Regions from separate parts of the Homo sapiens genome. Here regions 1, 2 and 4 are each linked to region 3. Evidence: promoter capture Hi-C in 16 types of primary human blood cells and fetal thymus (Javierre and others, 2016). All regions are on one chromosome and are shown on one strand. The core of a region is centred on a gene start or on the middle of the fragment in contact, and the rest is flanking DNA. Distances in the headings are between cores, read along the strand shown.

Region 1 (2,896 bases), core at 58-2,557, 200 kb after region 3:
AAGTGCTGGGATTACAGGCGTGAGCCACTGCACCTGGCCTAAAACTGGAATTTTAAATTTTTAACCAGATTGACAACCTCTTCATTAGCAACTTTAGACTGTTGACTTATGTTGGATTACTGATCTATTTTGGATTTGTTTCCATGATCCTTTTTTTCCCTTTTTCTTTATTTTTCCTCTGAGACTGAGTCTTGCTATGTTGCCCAGGCTGGAGTGCAGTGGTGTGATCTCGGCTCACTGTAATGTCTTCCTCCCGGGTTCAAGCAGTTCTCCTGCCTCAGTCTCCTGAATAGCTAGGATTACGGGCGTGTGCCATCATGCCTGGCTAATTTTTTTGTATTTTTAGTAGAGATGGGGTTTCACCATGTTGGCCAGGCTGGTCTTGAACTCCTGACCTCATGATCTGCCTGCCTCGGCTTCCAAAAGTGCTGGGATTACAGGCGGAAGCCACTGCGCCCGGCTCACTTTTTCTTCTGATGTATTGACTCAGATGGTTTTGCTGTTTTGGAGTCGGGGGCATTTTTCCTCCTCTACTCATTTGGAAGGTGCACATTCCATTTAACTCTCTGTATTCAAGTTTTTTCAGTATTTTACTGTGGTCACGTACACATAACATAAAATGTACCATCTTAATCATTGTAAGTGTATAGCTCAGGGGCATGAAGCACTTTGATATTGCTGTTGCTGTGCAGCCATCACCACCATCTATCTTCAGAGCCTTTTTGTCTTCCCAGTCTGAAACTCTGTCCCAGTTAAACAGGAACTCCCCATTCCTCCCTCCCTGGCTGCGGGCGTTCACCGTTCTACTCCCTGTCTCCATGAATTTGACTCCTCTTCAGTCCCTCACATAAGCGCAATCAGGCAGTATTTGTCTTTTTGTGTCTGGCTTATTGCACTGAGCACATTTTCAAGGCTTTTCCATGTCATTGCATGCATTGGAACTTCCTTGCCTTTTAAGGCTGAATAACCCTCTGTATGTGGAGATAAGCTTTTGCTTACCCATTCCTTCCTCCATGGGCTCTTGGGTTGCTTCCATGTTTTAGCCATCGTGAATAATGCTGTGAAGAACATGGGTGATAAGTATCTGAGCCTGTTTTCAGTTCTTTTGGGTGTATACCCGGAAGTGGGATTGCCAGGTCACACGGCATTTCTGTCTTTAAGTGTTTGAGGAGCCACAACACTGTTTTCCACAGCGGCTACACCTTTTTACGTTCTTGCCGGCGGTGCGCAAGGGTTCAGGGTTTCCACATCCTTACCAACATTTTTTTTTTGTTTTTTGTTAGTATTTTTTGATAGCCATTCTAATAGGTGTGAAGGTGACATCATAGTTTGGATTTGCATTTCTGTGTTTATTGAGCATTTGCACTTTTGAAGAATTGTCTATTTGAGTATTTTAACCAGTTTTGAATTGGATTATTTTTTGTCAAGTTTTAGGAGTTTCTGGATATTAATCCCATTTCAGATACGTGATTTGAAAATATTTCCTCCCATTCACTCTGCTGTGTGTCTTTTAATGCACACATTTTAACATTTTTCATGAAGCCCAGTTTATTTTTTCTTTTTGTTTCCTGTGCCTTTGGTGTCTTATTCAAGAAATCATTGCCAAATCCAGTGTCATGAAGCTTTTCCCTTCTGTTTTAAGAGATTTATAGTTTTAGGTCTTATGTCTAGGTCTTCGATTTTGAGTTAATTTTTGTGTGTGAAATGAGGCAAGGTCCAACTTCACATTCTTTTGCATGGCCATATCCACTTGTCCTGGTGCCATCTGCTGAAAAGACTGTCTTTTCCCCTCTGAATGGTCTTGGCACCCTTGTCAACAGTCTCTGCTGGATACGGGAGGGTTCGCTTCAGGGTTCTCTGCTATTCCCATGGTCTATATGTGTGTCCTTTCGTCAGCACCGCACTGTTTTGATGACCGTAGCTTTGTGGTAAGTTCTGAAGTCAGGAAGCGTGACTTTTACAGCTTTTTCAAGGTGATTTGGCTGTTGGGTGTTCCTTGAGTTTCCATATGAATTTTAGGGTGGATTTTCCTATTTCTGCAAAAGACATCATTGGTATTTTGATAGGAATTGCATTGGATCTGTAGATCACTTTCGGTGGTATTGACATCTTAACAATATTGGTCTTCCTATCCATACGTTCCCTAGTGCATTTAGTGGGTCCCATGGTAAAGTATTTATGTGTCAGCATGTAGACTGGGCTTAACAAAAATCCAAGGAATACTTGATGTTGGAACTCTGGTGACCTCCCTCATTTCCGGGGTTCTTTTCCCTGGTGTGGGTTCTTTTTTTTTTTTTTTTGAGACAAAGTCTCGCTCTTGTTCCTCAGGCTGGAGTGCAATGGTGCGATCTTGGCTCATTGCAACGTCCGCTTCCCGGGCTCAAGCGATTCTCCCACCTCAGCCTCCCGAGTAGCTGGGATTGTAGGCACGCACCACCACACCCGGCTAATTTTTGTATTTTTAGTAGCGACGGGGTTTCACCATGTTGGCCAGGCTGGTCACGAACTGCTGACCTCAGGTGATCCGCCCGCCTCGGCCTCCCAAAGTGCTGGGATTATAGGCGTGAGCTACCGCGCCCGGCTCCTAGTGTGGGTTCTGACTTGTCTGCAGTCATCCCTGAGGTGGGCATTGCGGCTGCTGCCCCCAGGCCTCCTTCATCTTGCCCGTATTGCCGGCATCTCAGTCCACCCAGCCCTCAGGGACTGCTTTCTGTGGTTGTCATATGTATGTCTTTGCTTAGTTTTCTTATCTGAGGTCTGTTTCCCCTTAACTCTTCTGTCCGAGTTGAGTGGGGGTGCTCATCGCCTCAGCTGGGAAGCTGCTCTTCCATGCTCTTCCTCACTCTAATTTTGGGGTTTTCAGCCTCTTGCTCACATGAGCTCCCTCAGCCTCCCA
Region 2 (2,969 bases), core at 230-2,729, 240 kb after region 3:
TTGTAGCCTGGAGGGCAGGAGCTTCCCTGGGTCCGTGGGAGGCTGGTGGCCCCAGGTGGGCTGCAGGGACAGTGGGGATGCAAGGGCCTGGACCCCACAGGGGAGGCAGTGGTGCTGCCGGGGTGGCTGAGAAAGGCCTGGGAGCTGGGCTGTGCTCGGGGGACCCACCCTGTTGCTGCACCTTTTGTGGGGGGGCGGGGCGTGCCCCGTGTCCTGCTGACGCCTGTGTCCTGCTGACGCCCCTCTCCGCAGAAGTCGGCCAGAGCAGCATGTGGATCTCCACTGATGCCGCCGCCTCGGTGCTGGAGCCTCTGAAGGTGGTGTGGGCCAAGTGCAGCGGCTACCCCTCCTACCCGGCACTGGTGAGTACGGCTCTCGTGGCGCCTGCGGGTCCAGAGGAGGCTCACACAGCTGCGGGGCGGGGGTGGTCCGAGGAGGCTCACGGCGGTGGTCCAAGGAGGTTCCACAGCTGGCGGGGGGGCGGGGTTGGTCAGAGGAGGTTCACACAGCTGGAAGGGGCAGGGGTGGTTCGGCGAGGGGGGCGTGGGGGTGGTCTGAGGAGGCTCACACAGCTGGGGTGGGGAGGCGGGGGGGGGTGCCAGTGACAGGTGGGGTTGTTTATGGGTGTGAGCCTCACAATGACCTCAGCGGGTCCTTCTCGTGCAGATCATCGACCCCAAGATGCCCCGTGTGCCTGGCCACCACAACGGCGTCACCATCCCGGCCCCACCCCTGGACGTGCTGAAGATTGGGGAGCACATGCAGACCAAGTCTGATGAGAAGCTGTTCCTCGTTCTCTTTTTTGATAATAAGAGAAGTTGGTGAGTTGAGAGGCCTTAGACTCCGGGGACCGGCTGGGGTGGTTGGGGGCCGTGGGCTCGGTGACCTGAGTGTCCCTGTGGTGAGCAGCGTCTTTGTCTGCTGGGCCCTGGCACAGCTAAAGTCGGAGGTGAGTGCTCCGCTGTTTGCCTGGTGGAGAAGGGCACTGCCCAGCCCCCTCGCCGGGACTGTGGGACGGGCACTGAGCACCGGGTCTGTCTCTGCCCGATGGCTTCCTCTCCCTCTCGCCTGAGCCCCATTGGTCTGGACTGTCTCTTCCCTACTCCTTACCCATGTGTCCGCTCCAGTGTTGGGGGTCCCTCTGCTGTGCTCCCGGACCCCTGTACTGCAGGACATGGCCCCTGCCCGGGCCTGGCCTCTGGCCCTGTTCTTAGAGCCTTCTGTCCCAGCATCATCCAGCTCTGCTCAGACATCCACCCCATCACAGGAGGCTCCCCCTGTGCCCTGAGCTGCTTTTCCCCAGAGCGTCTGGGACCCTCATGTGCCAGGGTTTAGACCCCAAGATCCCTCTGTGCAGGACACGCTGGCAGCACATGCCTCTGGGAGGAGCTGTGGCCCCGGCTGTGCCCTGCGCACGTGGCCCGGGCAGGTGCTTCCTGGTTCCCCGTGGAGCTGGCTGCACTTGGGACCTGGCGCAGGGGCTCGGGGCCACCTGCCTATGGTGTGCCTGGAGCAGGACTGGCAGCACAGGCATCCCTACCGTCTTTCTCTTCCTTGCCTCGACCTCTGCCTCTTTGGCCACGTGGCCACTGCTTCTTGTCAGGCCTTGAGCGAGGCCCACACCTTGTCCATCCGAGGGCCCCTTTGATGGGGTCTCCCCAACCACCGGCCTCTGCTCCAGGGCCCACCCTGACTCTGGGCTTGGTGTGTGCATGTCTTGTCACTAAGCAGGCACTGGGAAACGTTTTGGAGGTGGAGGAGGAGGTGATGGTTTTTATGCCTTACTTAGCTCCCCGTATCCCCAAGTCGGGGAGGGGAAGGGAGGGGTGCACTCCTGGCCTCGGGCCTGTCCCTGCACGGGGCCCAGCTGTCTTGGTGGTGCTGAGCAGGGCCCCTTTCTATCGGAGGGCAGTGAATTTGTTAGATGATTACATGGAGCCTGCTGAAATACCATGTGCAAGCAATGATTTTCCGCTTGTTTTTCCTTTTAAAAAGGCAGTGGCTTCCTAAGTCCAAAATGGTTCCCCTTGGTATTGACGAAACTATAGACAAGTTAAAGATGATGGAAGGGAGGAATTCCAGCATCCGGAAGGCCGTGCGGATCGCTTTTGACCGCGCCATGAACCACCTGAGCCGCGTCCACGGGGAGCCGACCAGCGACCTCAGTGACATTGACTGACGGCCCGGCCGCCAGCGCGGGTCTTGTCCATAGTGTTGATAAGCTGTACATGTTTGTATATTGTTCAAAACTTAACTTATTCTGATTTTTAGTTATAGCTCTTTAATTCTTTTTCCCCGGGGAGGGGGGAGGTTTTATTTCCAAGTTTTCTAGGAACCCATCTCCGTCTGGGCGCTGTGAGTGGGGTGGGCACGTCCGGGCAGCCCAGTGCGTCTGTCGCACGTCCCCAGGCCGTGCTGCTGGCGTCACTTTCTTTGATATGTAGCTTTTTCTTAAAGACTTTTGAATGTTTAATAATTTTGTAAATCATGCTCTTTACACAGAGTACCACTTATTTAATAAGACGGGATGTAAATTTACAATGACAAATGTGTATTTTAAGAAAGAAAATGACATTATTTTGAATGGTACTTTGTGGAAAGAGGGGAGAATAAAGTTATGCTGTGTACATCACTTGCAGATCACCAAAAACACTCCGCTGCCCGTGACCGCCGGTGGGTGTGTCCCCGCTCCCGTCGTCCCGCCCACCTCAAACCCCGCAGGTGTGCCTCCCAGCGGATTATTTATTGTAGAAAGTGTATTCATTTGCTTTATAATGAAAAATACATTTGCAAAGGTATATTGATATGCATTTTTATACAGGCACATAAAAATTCAACTTGGCTTGGGAGCAGAATGCATTGCATTGTATAAATGACTCTGGCCTGTGTGTACTTTGATTTTATAACTTGTAATCTTTTGTTTACAATGAGGGGCTTTCTGTAACTTGTTTTAATTTAGAACACTTTGG
Region 3 (3,214 bases), core at 11-2,510:
CAGGGCATTGTGGCCACAGGCACGCTGCTGCAGGGGGCGGGCTCAGCCCCATCTACTCTGCCCAGCAGTGAGTGCATAAGTTCCAGCCCATGGAGGGCTCTAGGCCAGGCGGGGGCAGGGTCGAGGTGCTGGCCCAGGAGGCAGGGAGGTGGGCAGTGCGGGGTGGTGGGAGGGAGGGAGGACTTCACGGTCACAGCAGCCCCTGCCGCCTTCCCTCCCCTGGGACCGAACCCCAGAGCTTGTTTCTCAAGCTCCCTCCTGACTACCCGAGCCCACAGTGTGAGGCCCACAGCCTCTCCCAGCCTGGGGGTGGTGCCGCCCTCCACACTTGGGGTGTCCTGTGGGTATTCCAGGCAGAACACCCCAGCTAGACACTCCCAGGCTCCCCAGCTATTAACTCCCGCCATCCCCCCCCCACACACACACAGACACACACACACACACACACACACACACACACACACACACACACACACACGTGGGGCAGTGCCCTCCCAGAACCTGAGGCAGGTGCAGAAGCCTCTGTGCCTGTCCAGGAAGGGAGGAGCCAGGAGGACCCAAGAACTGCACCCTGGTTCTCTCCAACCCCCTGCCCTGGCTGGAGGCAAATGGGAAGCAGTAAGCTTCTGCCCAGAAACTTTCCTATGCATTTGATGCTCCAAATAAGAAGATGACACAGAACGGCTCCCTGAGCAGAGGCTGGGCCCCAGAGTTCCCAGCCTCGGGGGGTGCCCTCCGGAGTGGGGGGGGGCTCATAGGGAGGACCACACAGGGGAGGTGGCCTTTTGCATCTTGAGGGGAGGTGGAGGCCAGGGACTTGGGTGGAATCTCAGGTCTTAGGAGAGGGCTCCCCTTAGGGGCTGGGGCTGAAGCCAGGGGCTCTGGGGTATGAGTGCCCAGGACAGATTCCACCCCTCTGCCAGCCCAGCCAGCTTTCCAGGGCCCTTGTCTACCCTCCTGGCCTCATGCATGCCTGAGGGAGGTGCACGCCGGCGGCAGCCTATCCCGCCGGCCTGGAGCCATCTCTGCACCAGTGGCCGCCCTGTGGGGAACCCCATTAGGGTGTCCTCGGACCCCAAAGGCCCCAAGGTTTCTGGATGCTTCCTTTGGAAACCTAGAAACTCCACAAGTGTCTGGCCACAGTCTTCTGGCCCCAGGCGGTGGAAAGTCTCCCGGGCTGCTGTCTGTGAAGCGAGCCCTGTTTTGCCGGGAGGGGGAGTGTCTCGCTCGCTCCAGCTGTGAAGAGCAGCCTCCACCCTCTGTTTGTCTTTGGGGCTGGAGCTGCAGGGTCAGCCTGGAGCCGCTGCCACAGGGCATCCTGCAAACTTGCCCCACTCACATCCACGCTTACCAGTGGGAGCTCTCACTGCACAGCCAGATGCTGGCTGGGCAAGCACTCGCGTTCTTGGGCCTGACCTGGGGCACTTTCCAGAGCCTGGCCATCCCCCGGATTACAGAATGTGGCCTCTCCTGTTCTCAGGTAAGCTCCTGCCTCCTCCTAGGCCCCTACACTGTGGCAGATAAGGCCCTGGTTTCTCCTCAGGTGGGTCTGGCCTGACGCTCTCAGCACATCAGCAGGTGAGGGGTTGCAGGGCCCTGGGGGGTCCGAGGGCAGCGCTGGTGAAAGAAGGATGGGAGACCTGGCCTGACCCTGCCGAGCTGCTCCGGGAAGTGTTTGCTGGAAGCTCAAGGCAGGGTGAGCCCACCTCGGACCCACCTGTGACCTCCAAGGAGGCTGTGTTAGAATCTAGGGCAGCCCGCAAGCCCATCCGGGGCTCCCACCCCACCCCGCTCGGCTGCTCTGAGCCATCGGGAGCCCGCAACACCTGGGCTTGTGTAGACACCTGCCAAGGAAACACTCGGAGAACGTGCTGAGAATGAGATGTTGGCAGTGGAGGTGGCTGGGTTGGGGTGGAGGGCTCTCACTGCACAGCCCACTCACTCAGCCTTACAGGAGAGGGCGCTTCATCAGCACCTGCAGCAGGAAGTGTACCCAGCATCCCAGGAAGGGGCCCCGGTGCCCAAGGCTGGCCGGGCACAGTGGGGACACAGGCATGGAAAGGGCACAGAAGGTGTCCCGGAAAGGGAGGACTCACTGAGGACCTGCTGGGTGCACCGTTCCTGGCATGGGGACAGCAGTTAGCAAGATGTGCCTTTAGGGTGGTGGCCTGGTCACCTCAGGGGACACTTGCGGGGACATCCAGCAGCTCCACAGGGCCTGAGACGGGTCCAGCAGAGGGCTCAGCTCAGGGAGGGGAGCAGCAAGGGCTGGAGTGCTGGGTGCCATGGGCAGGCTCAGATCCACAGGGCATTCGTGGAACAAGGAAGAAAGCAGGCTGGGATGCGTGGGAACCGGTGGCAGCAGGGGAGATGGGCGGGTTCAGGTGGGAGGGGTGTCCACCGGATGCCACCCTGCAGTGGAGATGGAAAACAGGGAGGGGGCAGGCCTGGGGATCCTGGCTAGGAGGGGGAAGGAGAAGCGAGAGATGAGACCTCAGAATCGACTTTTGCCTCTGGGAGGAAATGGTCCCTGAGTTGGGAGACATGGGGGGAGGCGGCCTTGAAGTGCAAGCTGGAAAGCTTTGCTGAGGCGGCTGCGGGGTATGCAGGCAGCCTCCCGGTCCGAGGTGTGACCGCGCTGTCCACGCTAGGACGGCCAGGTGATCCTGGGGAATGGGTGGGGACCAAGATTGAACCCTCAGTACTCCAAGGAAAGGGGCAGGGGCAAGGGCAGGGGCTGAGGCGGGTGGAAGAGGCCAGGAAGGAGGGGAAGTGCTGGAGGGGAGAGGAGAGGAGGGGTTTGGCGGGGCTGAGGGAGGGTCTCATGGAAGATGGGGTGGGGAGGGTTGAGCAGGAGGGGTCAAGGGGTGACAAGAGGAGCGGGAAGCTGGAGGTGGGTGTAGGGGCGCTGCCTGGGCAGCCTTGGACAGGGCGGTGGTTGCGAGGGGGCGCGGGAGCCCCTGCCCGCGGGGGGAAGCCAGGGAGGGGAGGCTGGGGCTACAGCCGCGCCCTGGGGGGGGACCCGCGCGGGTGACGGCGGGAGGCTGGGCCGCATGCAGGGGAGCTTGGGCGGGGTGGGGCCGCGAGCAGCCGCCCTGGGGGTTCCCTGCACACCCCCCGACGCCGGCCGCTGGGAAGCCCCGAGAAGCACGACGGAAAACCCCGTGCGGGGGAGGCGCCCAGCGCCCGGGCTCAGCCCCCCCCCGCCCCCGCT
Region 4 (2,961 bases), core at 125-2,624, 160 kb after region 3:
CCCTGCTCTCACCTGCCGGTGTTTCTCCTTGAAGCACTTACTGAGCCTTTTTCTCTGGTTTACGCTGCTCCTCACCACCACCATGTTCCCTACGGCCAGGGCCTTCTTTGAAAACCACCATGGCCCCAGCAGGCAGAGAGGCAAGCACCTCTGTCTCTCCTGCTCCCCTCCGCCTCAGAAATGGCAAAGAGCTTATTTTATTCCTAACAATGCCTCCCAGAATTTGAACTACAAAAGCACATATCCAGTGATGACCAAGGAAGGGATCTGAGGTACTGCAGAATGTAGAAAAACCTAGGTGCTAAAAAGTGGGGAGCAGAAGGGCCTGGAAGGCTGGGATGCAGAGAGGCCCGAATCCTTGAAAGGGCTGAAGCCAGAGAGCTGCTGGAATCCACAGACACTAAAAGAGAAAGCCAAAACCAAACCGCTAAGGGGTGTCACGGGCTAAAGGCACAGTGACTTTCTTACACAGCCAAATGTAAATAAGAGCAATTCCTATAGGTACATTCTCAGGTCCTGAGATTTAAACAGTGAAGGAAACAACGTTGGTAAGGAAGGGCCAGCTTGGCCTCTACCCCAGGGCTGGGCAAAGCCACGCCCAGCTGTTTCACCTGCTCCCTCCTCTCAAAAGACAACCACCACACCAAAGAGAATGAGACCAGAAGCTAAAGCCAGGCAAAGAAAAAAACGCAAAACAAAGTGAAGGACGGCACTGACCACGGTCACTTCCTGCTCCTCATGCCGCCAGGAGTCCACTCCCCAGGGCTCCTCACCAAGGATCTGAGACACACACACACACACACCTTTCGCTAAAGAAGCTGCTTCTCAGCTCCTCTGCACACACACAGAAGTCAGTCCGCTCCCCTAGTAATTTTTTTAGTCTTTCTGCAAGGTGTTATGGACATACTTTGCACAGCTGAGTTACTCACTGTGTGTGTGGAGGGGGTTGGGGAGGAGGTAACCTTAAAGAGCAGAGGTTTTACATCCAACAACATCAACCACCTTATTCAGGAATTACCTGGACAAGAGTGTGTGTTGGGGGAGACCCTGTAACCACCTGTCAAGTGGACTAAAAGTCTTAGGTTTCTTTCCATATAGATTAACTGTGTCCTCACCTCAAAGACCGGGCCTCTGAAGCTTTTTCAAGATTCACAGAATCTCTCTTAACTTGTGCTAGATCTTTTCTTGAAAAAAAGCCAATCATGACAAGCAGATATAATCCGTTTAAGGACTACGGGAAGTGTGCAGCCTTGTACGGACGTCCCATTGGAAACCCTCGGAGTATGGAATCAAACTCCTGTAAACTTTCCTCTTGCAAAGTAACTTTGTTTAGTAATTGCAATTAATTCATAATCAAAATGTGGCTTATTCATAGCACTTAAAAAAAAATCCCAACCAAATCCTTCCTAGCCTCAATTTTGTCACTATGAATGACATACACAGAAAAAATAAAAAACATTTCTGTGTAAAAAGTCGCAGGATGCCCTTGCTTTACCAAACTGGCCTCACTATGAGGTCTGAATGGATTTCTAAAAACGTAATCTGATCAGAGTTAACTTCAAAATAAATAACTTCCCTTTCGACCAACACGAGAACACCAACAGAAGCTTCTGACGGCTCAGCTTGGCCGGGACGTGTTTCCACAGAGGTGCCCGGGTCTACCAGGGCCACCCGGAATAGAAAGGCGCAGAAGGGAGCCCGAGGGGCTGCGATTCTCTTAGCAACGAAGGCGGTGTGGGCCACACAACGGGACAAAAGAAGAAACAAAACTGACTGCGAGCTCATTTGGGTGTAGGAAAACCACTGCAGTCGAAAAACATTTGAAATTATGGTTCGCAAGGCAAGTTACATTTTTATTCATTAAATGTGAACGGTCATCCCCAGAACCACGTACAATAACCTGCCTCGGGGCGCGTCGCAAGGACCCGTCTGGGCTGAGACATGAAGCAGGGCCCAGGTGGCCCTTCCTGGAGGTGGGACGGGAATGACACGTCCAGAGAAGTCCCAGGGACGGGGCTCGCGGGGTTAACTCGACGTGGCCGGGACAGCGCGCTCCCGGCGGACCCGGGCGGCGCCCCGAGCCCGAGCCCCGTCCCGTCCGCCCGGAAGCAACGGCGCGGGCACGTGGGCCAGGCCGGGCGCCGACCCCCGGCACTCGGCCGCTCAGTCGGCGCCGCCCCCGCGCCAGCTGTCAGGGCCGGGGTCCGCGCGGGGGCGGGTCCGGGGCGGCGCCGGGCGGGGACCCCGAGGCCACGGAACCGCGCCCCCGCCCGCCTGGCCCCGGCCCTGGCCCCGGCGCGGCGCAGACAATGGCGCGGCCCGGCCCGGCCCCGGCGCGGTCCGCGGGGGACGGGGCTCGCGGCAGGCGGCGGGGCGGCGGCGCCCGCGCACTCACCTCGGCCCGGCCTCTGGGGCGGCTCCCGGCCGGCTGCGGACGACGGCGGCGCGGGCGGACGCTCCATTCATTACCGCGGCTTTGTCTGCCCCCGCGCCCCTCCCGCGGCCCCGCCGCCCGCCGCCCGCGACGCCGCCGGACGCTGCGCCCCTCCCAGGGCCCCGCGCGGCGCGGGGCGGGGCTGGCCGGGGGCGGGGCCGATCGGGGGCGGGGCCTACTCTCGCAGGCGCAGTGTCCGCGTACCCGCCCCGCCTCGTCCCTGGCCGGGCGGGAGGACGGAGCGCCGGAGGCCCGGCCGCTGGGGCGGGGTCGGGCGGAAGACGCAGGCGCAATGCGCGCTTCGGCTCCGCCCCCGGGTCCAGGAGGGCAAACTACGCAGGCGCAGTGGGCGCTCCGGCGCTGGCGGGCGACGGGAAGGGCTTAGGCGCTCTGGCTGGGCGGGGCGCGGGCGCCTTGGTTTCGTCCCGTGGCTTGGCAGTTGGCAGCGGCTCGGCGCGCACCCAACGGCCCACCGCGGGTTTCCGGGACGGCTAGCAGCGCGGTTCCCGGTCCCGCCCCGAACCCCC

Evidence for each region. Contacts are between HindIII fragments. The CHiCAGO score rates a contact against its expected background, and 5 or more counts as called.
Region 1: a fragment that was not itself captured here is called in contact with the fragment with the promoter of IL17REL in region 3 in 1 of 17 cell types (activated CD4 T cells); the score reaches 5.5 in activated CD4 T cells.
Region 2: a contact is called between a fragment that was not itself captured here and the fragment with the promoter of IL17REL in region 3, in 1 of 17 cell types (non-activated CD4 T cells). The highest score is 5.0, in non-activated CD4 T cells.
Region 4: a contact is called between a fragment that was not itself captured here and the fragment with the promoter of IL17REL in region 3, in 1 of 17 cell types (activated CD4 T cells). The highest score is 5.3, in activated CD4 T cells.

What each region holds. Positions count from the first base shown.
Region 1 is chr22:49,806,403-49,809,298 of GRCh38, reverse strand. The region is part of intron 2 of BRD1 (bromodomain containing 1); the gene reads left to right. Among named protein-coding and RNA genes, the nearest start is that of BRD1, 20 kb to the left of the region's middle. The HindIII fragment of the contact is 634 bases long and covers 991-1,624 here.
Region 2 is chr22:49,773,443-49,776,411 of GRCh38, reverse strand. It overlaps BRD1 (bromodomain containing 1), which reads left to right. Exons shown (of 13, transcript NM_001304808.3): 11 at 253-362; 12 at 667-821; 13 at 1,996-2,969. The coding sequence ends at 2,179. Among named protein-coding and RNA genes, the nearest start is that of BRD1, 53 kb to the left of the region's middle. The HindIII fragment of the contact is 4,454 bases long and covers 1-2,969 here.
Region 3 is chr22:50,010,811-50,014,024 of GRCh38, reverse strand. It overlaps IL17REL (interleukin 17 receptor E like), which reads left to right and starts at 1,260. Exons shown (of 15, transcript NM_001371417.1): 1 at 1,260-1,480. The coding sequence starts at 1,379. RefSeq lists an enhancer at 775-1,375 and silencers at 2,890-2,939, 2,950-3,214. The HindIII fragment of the contact is 1,957 bases long and covers 626-2,582 here.
Region 4 is chr22:49,853,424-49,856,384 of GRCh38, reverse strand. ZBED4 (zinc finger BED-type containing 4) reads right to left here and starts at 2,541. Exons shown (of 2, transcript NM_014838.3): 1 at 2,396-2,541. It overlaps LOC124905147 (a long non-coding RNA gene), which reads left to right. Exons shown (of 2, transcript XR_007068156.1): 2 at 1,099-1,883. LOC105377205 (a long non-coding RNA gene) reads left to right here and starts at 2,873. Exons shown (of 5, transcript NR_188597.1): 1 at 2,873-2,961. RefSeq lists silencers at 1,894-2,183, 2,354-2,961. The HindIII fragment of the contact is 470 bases long and covers 1,140-1,609 here.